Regions from separate parts of the Homo sapiens genome. Here region 2 is linked to region 1. The links are contacts of gene promoters, found by promoter capture Hi-C in human tissues and cell types (Jung and others, 2019). All regions are on one chromosome and are shown on one strand. The core of a region is centred on a gene start or on the middle of the fragment in contact, and the rest is flanking DNA. Distances in the headings are between cores, read along the strand shown. Region 1 holds the start of SH2B3 (SH2B adaptor protein 3). Region 2 holds the start of MAPKAPK5 (MAPK activated protein kinase 5).

Region 1 (4,839 bases), core at 1,186-3,685:
GCTGCTGTCTGGGCAGTGAGAGGGAAAGTGCTTGTGGCTGGCAGATTTCAGCAGCCATTTGGCATTGGCTGGGTACCGGGCTGCTCTGTGGGTGCTGCCTGGCAGCTGCATGGCTACAGACAAGTAACTGTTCTCTCTTGGCCGCAGTGTCCCCAGGTATAAGAAAGTGATCAAATAATATGGGATGATCCATTCAGACTTTTTTTTTTTTTTTTTTTAGAGACAGAGCCTACCTCTGTCTCCCAGGCTCGAGTGCAGTGATGCAATCTTGGCTCACTGCAGTGTCCACCTCCCAGGTTCAAGCGATTCTTCTGCCTCTGCCTCCCCAGTAGCTGGGACTACAGGTGCGTGCAACCATGCCTGGCTAATTTTTGTATTTTTAGTAGAGACAGGGTTTCACCCTGTTGACCAGGCTGGTCTCAAACTCCTGACCTCAGGTGATCCGCTGGCCTCAGCCTCCCAAAGTGCTGAGATTGCAGGTGTGAGCCACTACACCCGGCCTCGTTTAGACTTCATTGACATTCCCCCACCCCACCCCTCTTCCCACATCCTCAGATGCCGTGTGAACAGCTTGAATCCCACACTCCACAGGTCCTTCTCCTCACAACCCTCCATGGCACCCTACTGCCTTCAAAATAATTCCCAAAGTCCCCACCAAGACCTTCAAGACACCATGTGATGGGCCCACCTTTGAAACATCATCTCTTACCAGTATAGGTGTCACCACTGCCTTTATGACTTTATTCCAAAGCACCACATGTATTCCCACCTCAGCACCTTTGCACATGCTGTTCCTTTGGCCTGGAATGCTCTTCCCTCAGACGTTATAGCACCTGGATCCTTCTTGTCATGGAGGGTTCTAAGCTCACATGTTAGTTCCGCAGAGGTGTCCTTCCTGAGCCCTGGATCTAAGACATCCCCTTCCAGCTCTCCATCCCGTAACTGTTTTGTCATTGTCATAGCTGATCCCACTTGCTTATTCGTGCCTTATGTCCCCCCACTAGAATATCAGCTCCACGCAGGCAGGGATATCTGTGTTGTTCACTGCTGTGTTCCCAGCGCCTAGAACAGTGCCTGGAAATGTGCGGAAAGCAGATTTTTGTGGCCTTTTTCTTCAAGGTCATTGGACACCAGGAATCCTGTAGCAGACCGCTCCCTTCCCCCATCTACTCGGAGTCTGGAAATCCCCACCTTCTGGGGAACCCCTTCCTGTAGTTCTAAGGTCAGGACTGGGGCCGATTTGTTTAACACAGAGAGCTTCCTGGAGCCAAGCCTCGAGCTAACTGCTTTAATGCATTAACTCACTTAATTCTCACTGCCAGGAGAGTGGGTACACATTATTTCCATTTCATAGGCAAGGAAGTGGAGAGGTACGGAGAAGTCAAGTCATTTGCCCGGGTAGGAAGAGGGGGAGGCAGTGGAATGGAGACACTTGCTGCCTGGGAAGACTCGAGGTGGCCCCTCCAAGCTGGGGGCGTGGGCGACTTGTTTCCTGTTGGGGGAGGGGGAGAAGAGTACATTCCTCCCTCCCCGCCCTCCCACATGTTGGGGGAGAGGCTGGCTGAGAGCATGTCCCACTCCGGACTAGGGGGAACCCCACTGTCCGTCTCAGCTCCCCATGAGGCCGTGGAGAAAATGTAAGTAGCCCGGGGGCGGGCAGGGGGGTGGGCGCAGAGGCCACGGAAGCCAGCGGTCGGAGAGGGCTTCCTGGAGAAAGATGCACCCCTCCTAGAATTGGGGGACAGGACGGGCGGCCGGAGCGAGGCTGGGCTATACGGGCACCGGCTGTAGCAAAGGCAAAGCTGAGGGCTGGGGCCAGAACCCAAATCGGGGGCCTGGGGCCGTGGCGGGTCGGGTCAGCATGATCGCAGATAGTCAGGGTCGGGCAGGGCTGGGCTCCCTCCCTGGGGCGATGATGAAAGCCGTGGTCGCTATTGCACCGCCCAGCCCTGCGGGCACTGATAAGGCCCTGCAGGAGGGAGTCAGCAAGGGCGCGCCCCCTGGAGGCCAGGCCCCTCGACCCTGCCCGCCCTAGGCCCCGCCCCTTCATCTGGCCCCGCCTCCAGGCGCTGAGGCACCTGGTGACCTGCCGGCGTTGAGTGGGTGGGGCTAAAGTCGCCCCGCCCCTCCGATCCTCACTTCTATCTTCAGACTGTGGGACGCGAAATCGGGTGGGCACGTGGTGGGCGTGGCTTCGCAAGGCCTCGCCTTTTTCCGGACCCGCGCCAGGAGAGCCCTCCGACCCTGGCAGCCGCGGACTAGCGGGATTGGTAGGCGGGGCCAGTCCGGGCTCCGCCCTCATGGCCCGCCCCTCCAGCCGAATCTCCGACTCGCGCGCGGCCTGAGGCGTGGCTCCTGGTGGCCCCGCCCCTGCCCCGCCCCTGTCGCGGCCGGCCTCCCCCGCCGGGCTCCGCTCGCACGGCCGGTTCCTCTTTACATAACGGCGCGGGGCGGCATGGGCCCGGGCCACCGCCTCCGCCCGGCTGCCCGCCCGGACTGTCGCGGCCCGCGGTGGCGACGGCGGCCGCTGCAAAGTTTCCCCGGCGGCGGCGGCCCGGGGGCGCATCCTCCCGCAACTGTCAAGCGCTGGCGGCGGAAATGATGAGGCGCTGGCCATTTTCCGAGCCCGGGTTTCCTGCCTGAGCCCCGCTCGAGCGAGCCGCGAGCGAGGAGCCGGCGGGCGGGAGAGGACGCGCCCAGGGCGGGGGCCCGCCCGCCCCCTCGGGATTTCGAGGGCCCGGGGGCGCGCGACGCCATGGGCCGGCCGGGCCCAGAGCTCCTGTCTCTCAGGTGAGCCCGCGTTTGCCCGCGCTCCCCTCCTCCGGGGCCGGGAGGGCTTTTGTGGGGAAAGAGGAGGCCCCGTGTCCAGTTCTGCCCGGGCTCTGCGCGTCACCCCCAGCCCAAAATACTGCCCTGCAGCCAACTCGGATGGAGGCGTTCCGGGGTGACGGCTCCCAGCGCCTACGACCCCCCACTCAGCCACTACCCCCACCCACACACGTGTTAGGGAGAGCGTTGGGGTAACTGAGGCCGTGGGATGGGGGAGAGGGCATCGCTGACGCCCCCAGCCCACCCTACGGTAGCCTCGCCGGTTGGGGGCGGCCCTCCCCTCAACTTGTGCCTGGGGAGGAGCGGTCAGGGGTCACCCATTGCTACCCTGAAAGTGAAAGTAGTCAAACTGAGGCTGTGAGCACAGATGAGCCCTTGGGTGTGGGGGCAGCGGGGGAGGATGCGCCGGCCCCTCCCCACTCCCCATTCCGGGCCATGTGGCTAAGAGGGTAGCGCCCTGATTCAGGAAGCCCCTCTCCCCAGTTCCTGCACTGCCGAGGTCGACCGGGCCAGGCCCCCGCATGCTGCTGAATTGGGCGGTTCACCAGGGCTAGGCGTCCCAGAGACAGGTTTCTGGTATTGATCCTCTCACACCTCTTGCCTGGGGTTCCCTGGGAATCCCCCGACCAAAAAACGTCTGGAGTGGGTGTTGGTCTTCTAGATCCGCACGGTAGGGATGGTATTTCAGAGGTCTCTGATGCCTGGTGCAGAAATCCCCTTCCCTCCCTTCCCTCCCTCCGGCCAGGGGAGCTTTGTTTTGAGGGAGGGGGACTGCATTTGAGGAACTGGAGAGGAGGGTCTGCCTGCCTGTCCCGCTTCTTTTTTTCTTTAGTTTCCTCATTCTCCTGTTTCTCTTCCCCATTCCCAGCCACAATGATGTAGGTGAGGAGGTCACTGCCTGCAGCTGGGGGCCTCCAGGGAGGGGCACGGCCAGGCTGGGCTGAGTGGGAGGAAGTGAAATCTGGTGGGGGGTTCAGAGCAGAGGCCCCGGCAAGGCAATGTCGGCAAGGCCAGCTTTGGTGGCAGGAGGGACCGAGATCTGACCCGCAGCCCCTCGCCGGGGAGATGACAGTTCCCTAACACCGGCTAGCAGCCAGGCCTCAGGGCCCCTGCCAGGGCAGTGGGCCTGTGGGTCTCCAGGGATGCAGGCGCAGGTTGTGTCTGGGTTTCCCATCACTGACCTGGCTGCCTGAGTGGAAACAGCTCTGGAGGCTCCTCGGGACCTGCCCTCGTGGAGGGAGAGCCGTCAGAGGCCACCTGGGCAGGCTGGGCTCGGAGGATGAGAGCCAGGGCCTACTGGGGGAAGTTGGAAGGGTTTTTAGTGCACTTTTCCTGAGCCTTTTCCCACTACCCCCTCTGGGAGGGAAAATCCTTCTGAGCCAAAGGGTGAGCATTCCTAGAACTTTTGTGAGTCCCTGTGGGCCACAGAGCGGCCAGCTGGGAAGGGGCTGGCTCAGAGCATCAGCAGCTGGGGGCTCAGGGTCTGCAGGGGCTCAGCAGGAAGTGGAGGAGGATAGTGAGGAGGGTCCTGGAGACTGTGCTTTGCTACTCCTATTGCCTTCGTTCAGCTGAAGGCGTGGGCAAGTGACTCTGCCCTCAGTTTCCCTCTGTGTAAAATGGGGGAGTAACAGGTTTGCAGTGGAGATTTAATGAGCCAGTGTGTAATGAGCACCTGCTGCCTGGCAAAGAGAGGTTCAGTTGCAGGTGGTGGTGGTGGTAGTGGTGATTTTATCATTGCCTTCATTAGTGTTACTGTTATTGGCTATGAGGTGTTCCTTCAGTAGTCTCCCTTGAGCATCTCTTGCATACATAGCACTGGAATTTCCTGGGTCTTTGGGAGCAGAATTTTGAAGATCTGGGCACTTCCTTAGCTATAAGGCCTTGCTTAACTGCCCCACCTCAGTTTCCTCATCTGTGAAATGGGTGTGCTAATAGTACCTACTTCCTAGAGTCATGGGAACCATGAATGAGTGAATTCACAGTGTCCAGAGTGGCTTGGTCAGGAGGAAG
Region 2 (4,839 bases), core at 719-3,218, 440 kb after region 1:
GAAAGTTATCCTTGGTCTGTTTCTTATCCTTCCCTTCCACATCTAATCCTTCAGGAAGTCCTGACAATGTTACCTCCAAAATATGTCTTAAATCCATCTTCTCAGCCAGGCACGGTGGCTCACGCCTGTAATCCCAGTACTTTGGGAGGCCAAGGGAGGTGAATCACTTGAACTCAGGGGTTGGAGAGCAGCCGGGGCAATGTGGAGAGACCCAATCTCTACAAAAAAAATACGAAAAATTAGCCAGGCATGGTGGCATGCGCCTATAGTCCCAGCTACTCAGGATGCTGAGGTGGGAGGATCGCCTGAGCCCAGGAGGTCTAGGTTGCAGTGAGCTGTGATCACGCCACTGCACTCTAGACAGTGGGACCGTTTAAAAAAAAAAATCCATCTTCTCTACACCTTTACCGCCACCTCCTTAGTTCAGACAGTGTAATAATCTCTCATCTGCATTATTCTCCAATAGCCTCCTAATAGCTCTGTTTCCATTCTTGCTTTCCTATATTCTATTCTCTACAAAGCAGAGTGATCTTTTAAAACAAATTTGTTCACATCACTCTTTACTTTAAAACCTTACAATAGCTTAGAATAAAATCCAAAGTCCTGATTATGACCCCCAAAGGCCACATATGATGCAGCCCCTGCCCACATCTCCAACCTCATCCTTTTTATACTTTTTTTTTTCTTTTTTTGAAATAGAGACGGGGTTTCGCCATGTTGGCCAGGCCGGTCTCGAACTCCTGACTTCAAGTGATCCGCCCGCCTTGGCCTCCCGAAGTGCTGGGATTACAGGCGTGACCCACCGCGCCCAGCCTCCAACCTCACCCTTTATCAGTCTCCTCCTACTCGATCTACTCCAGCTACAATGACCTTCTTGCTGATTCTTGAACATATTTAGCTTATTTCCACCTTAAAATTTCTACCCATCTGCCCAGAAATCTTTCCTTGGATTTCCAATAGCCAGCCCTTTCTCATTCCTCAGGGGTCTCAGCTTAAATGTTACCTCCTGAGATTCCTTCCTTAATCATCTAATACGAAGAAGTCCCCACATCCAGTTATTCTCTTACCTCAGCATCCTGTTTATGTTCTTCTTAGCATCAGACTCGGGCTTTTTCCTGTTTATTACCTACTTCGTTTTCCTGAAAGATCCATGTGCCGGTACCATGTGTTGTTCCTACTGTTTCTCCAATGTCTAGTAGATTTGGCACATACTGATGTGCAATTAATACGTGAATGAAGAACCATTGACAGACGATTAGTCAAAAGCTCTTGCAAAGCCCTTTGATAGGTTATCGGTGGAGAGTAGGGAGCACAAACCTGGGGTCCCATTCTAGCTTGACCACTTCTCGGCTGTGCACAAACTAGTCTAGCTCTCCTGAGCCTCAGTTACCTATTTTGCAAATTAGGGATGGGAACATCCATACCTCACGACGCCAAACGGCTACCTTGTAAAGACGAAAGGAGGAAATGCAGGAAATAACTCCACGTAAGGTTAATGCTCCGTAAACAGAGCTGCTACTGCTATTATATATTCTATACAATCCTGCGCCCTTAACGGCAGGACCCTTTCAGTGCTTCAGTCCTGTCTTCTCTCTCCTGGGTTGACCTCCACAGATCCTCTCAGAAGAGCGTTTTCCAGGCGTGAATCTCCGCAGAGTGGAGATAAAGGCTGAGGCCCCAACGCACGCGCACTCACGCGAGTCCGGGCCTATGACGTCATTAGCGCAGCGCCATCGCCGCGGAAGGCCCAGGGGCCTGTCCTGTATGCGGCGTGTCTTAGGGAGGCCCAGGCGGACGCCTGCAAGTCGGGTGCGCGGTTCGGGGGCGGCTCGGAAACCCCAGCGGAAGGCAGCAAGGGGCGCGTGGGGCCGTGGAGTCACGAAGCTGGGCGGCAGGAGGGGCGGCCTGGAGCTCCCGCGGGGCACAGCGCGTGCGTGAGGGCGGCCGGCGGGGCTGCCCGGCGCGGGTGTCCCGGCGATGTGTGGCGCTGAGGCGGCGGCGGGAGCAGCGGCGCCGAGCTCTGCTTCGGCTTCGGCTTCGGCTTCGCGGCGGTGCAGGCGGCGGAGGCGGAGGCGCAGGCTCTTCTTTAGGACCTGGCGAGCCCAGGTCTAAGCGGCGGCCCCGCGAGGCCCTTGCACGGCGCCCCGGGTCGAGGCCCTCCCCGCCTCGCCCTACCCCAGGAGCCTGCCTCCCCAGCTGGGGATGAGGCTAGGAGGCGGCCGCGTGGGGCCCAGCACAAAGACCTGTCCCCAGGGGCCGCCGCCTCCGCCGCTGCTGCTGCCGCCAGCCTAGAGCCGCCCGCCGAAGCAGAGCCGGCGCCGGGGTCCTCATCCCCACCGGTCCCGAGGGGCGGCTGCTGCCCGTCGCCACGAGGCCCAGGGGCCCGAGTGCCGAGCCCTTTGCTCCCTCGGCCGCGCGGGGACAGGGCTGCTGAGCAGCCTCCGCCTCTCCCGGCTGTGGGGGCCCCACTGAGTATGTCGGAGGAGAGCGACATGGACAAAGCCATCAAGGTAAGGGGGAGGTGCCCCCTCTTCCCCCGCGTTGTCCTGTGGCGTTCTTCTCGGCTCTAGCCTCAAAAAGCAGGGAGATTTTGCAGTGAGAGGTTCCATCGACTACCGGGTTTCGGCCTCCCCCGGATTCCGTGGATCGCGCTTTACAGCCCTGGGGCCAAGGGTTATGGGTGTGGGTGTAGGTGTGTGTCCGACTCCCGCCAGCTTCCCTGGTGAGTGTGATTTGTGCTCAGCTGGAACAGAGGTGAGTGGCCTGGAGACACTATTAAGTGTCAATGAATGGGACGAAGAGAGCCCTACTACTACTACTACACGTTTCGATCACTCCCCAAGGCCGCCAGCATTTGCTTCCGGATGGTCTACAGAACTTGGAGAGTTGGAATTTATCCATCCCTCCCGATTTGTTTGAAATCAGCCTTCTGGAAATCTGCAGTTGGAAAAAGGTGGTTCGCCGTACAAAACCTGTCCTTTGGGGAATAGGTTGTCCTCACTTTTCCGTGTATTCTCCCCTTTTTCTTTTTCCTCTTCTTTCTCCTAGGAAGCATTGAGTTTACTTAGGAAAAGTTAACAGTTCCTGTGACTTAACTGCACTTAAACCAAAAGAAAAGCAAATGTGTGTTCGAAAATTACACAAATAAAATAAGTTTTCTAAAACCTGTTTTTAACTTTTTTTTTTTTTAAAGGCACATTTTGCCCACTCAGGGCCAGTTATCTGTCTTGACAGCTGTAGCTAAGAAATTAGTCTTATGAAAATTAAACATTGACGCTTAAAGTTTGATGTATTATTTACTTATTTGTAGTGTTAAGTCAGCCCAGTGCATTGAATAATTTCATTTTATCTTGAAGGACAGGCATCTATTGGCAGCTTGGGGTTATTTTCCCCTTCAAGACAGTTACTAGTAATGATTAAGAATTTACATTTCTACCAATTCTTTAGGTGGTGTATATAGTTTCTCAAAATCATCAAGTCATTCCAAAGAAACTTAACCCTTTAAAGGAGGCATCAACATATAACATATACATTAAGGAAGACCAGGTTTTTTGTCTGTTTGTTTGTTTTTGAGACGGAGTCTCACTCTGTCGCCCAGGCTGGAGTGCAGTGGCCCGATCTTGGCTCACTGCAAGTTCCGCCTCCTGGGTTCACGCCATTCTCCTGCCTCAGCCTCCCGAGTAGCTGGGATTACAGGCGCCCACCCACCACGCCCTGCTAATTTTTTCTTTTGTTTGTATTTTTAGTAGAGACGGGGTTTCACCGTAATAGCCAGGATGGGCTCGATCTCCTGACCTCGTGATCTGCCCGCCTTGGCCTCCCAAAATGGTGGGATTACAGGCGTGAGCCACCGTGCCTGGCCCAAGGAAGACGAGGTTTTAAATCATAAAGATTCTAAAAGACTGCCTTGACATATCCTTCTTTTGTTTTGGGTTTTGTTTTTTTTTTTGAGTCGGAGTCTGGCTTTGTCATCCAGGCTGGAGTGCAGTGGGATGCTCTTGGCTCACTGCAACCTCCACCTCCCAGGTTCAAGTGATTCTCCTGCCTCAGCCTCCCCAGTAGCTGGGACTACAGGCACGTGCCACCACACCCAGCTAATTTTTTTGTATTTTTAGTAGAGGTGGGGTTTCACTGTGTTAGCCAGGATGGTCTCCATCTCCTGACGTCATGATTTGCCCGCCTCGGCCTCCCAAAGTTCTGAGATAACAGGTGTGAGCCACCGCGCCCAGCCTTGGTTTGGGTTTTATTGGCACAGAGGCATGATATGCCGCCTGAAGTTATTTAATTGGGTTGTGAATCAAAGCGTATGTGGCCAGTTTTTAAACATTGTCTCCTGTGTGCCAGATGGTGTCCTAGACACAAATGGTACAAGCCAGACTCCTAGATGTCCCTACTGTCATGTAGCTTATATTCTAGAGGGTGGGGTTACTGCTAGGTGGTTTTAATTAAGTGTGGAAAGGGTGAGGAGTACTGTGTTAAATAGGGTAGTCCGAGGAGGTGACACTGTAGAGTTCTGATGGAAATGCGAGAGCAAGCCACCACTGTCTCAGGGAAGAGTATAACAGGCAGTGGGAATAGCAAGGACAGACCTTGAGGTAGAAGCAGGTGTAGTGTGATGTAGGAAGAGCAAGGTGGCTGGAATGCAGTGGGTCAGTGGAGATGATGTAGAGCAGCAATGGGAAGCAAGGCACTTAGGGCCTTGTAGGCCATCGTAAGAACTTTGGGTTTGACCCTGATTAAAAGGGGAACTATAGGAGAGTTTTGAACAGAAGAGAGACATAGTTCCAGGAGATAAGTATACAAATAGGGCAGCAATGTCACTTAGTGGTTGTTATAGCT

The links. Contacts are between HindIII fragments. The study calls those that stand out against the background at their distance.
Region 2: a contact is called between the fragment with the promoter of MAPKAPK5 here and the fragment with the promoter of SH2B3 in region 1, in 1 of the 25 tissues and cell types used here (liver).

Annotation. Positions count from the first base shown.
Region 1 is chr12:111,403,488-111,408,326 of GRCh38, forward strand. It overlaps SH2B3 (SH2B adaptor protein 3), which reads left to right and starts at 2,436. Exons shown (of 8, transcript NM_005475.3): 1 at 2,436-2,790. RefSeq lists silencers at 1,915-2,074, 2,195-2,774. The HindIII fragment of the contact is 38,873 bases long and covers 1-4,839 here.
Region 2 is chr12:111,840,260-111,845,098 of GRCh38, forward strand. MAPKAPK5 (MAPK activated protein kinase 5) reads left to right here and starts at 1,969. Exons shown (of 14, transcript NM_003668.4): 1 at 1,969-2,510. The coding sequence starts at 2,475. MAPKAPK5-AS1 (MAPKAPK5 antisense RNA 1) reads right to left here and starts at 2,746. Exons shown (of 2, transcript NR_015404.2): 1 at 1,068-2,746; 2 at 1-218. RefSeq lists enhancers at 1,545-1,824, 2,555-2,654 and silencers at 1,855-2,034, 2,115-2,464, 4,146-4,314. The HindIII fragment of the contact is 25,902 bases long and covers 1-4,839 here.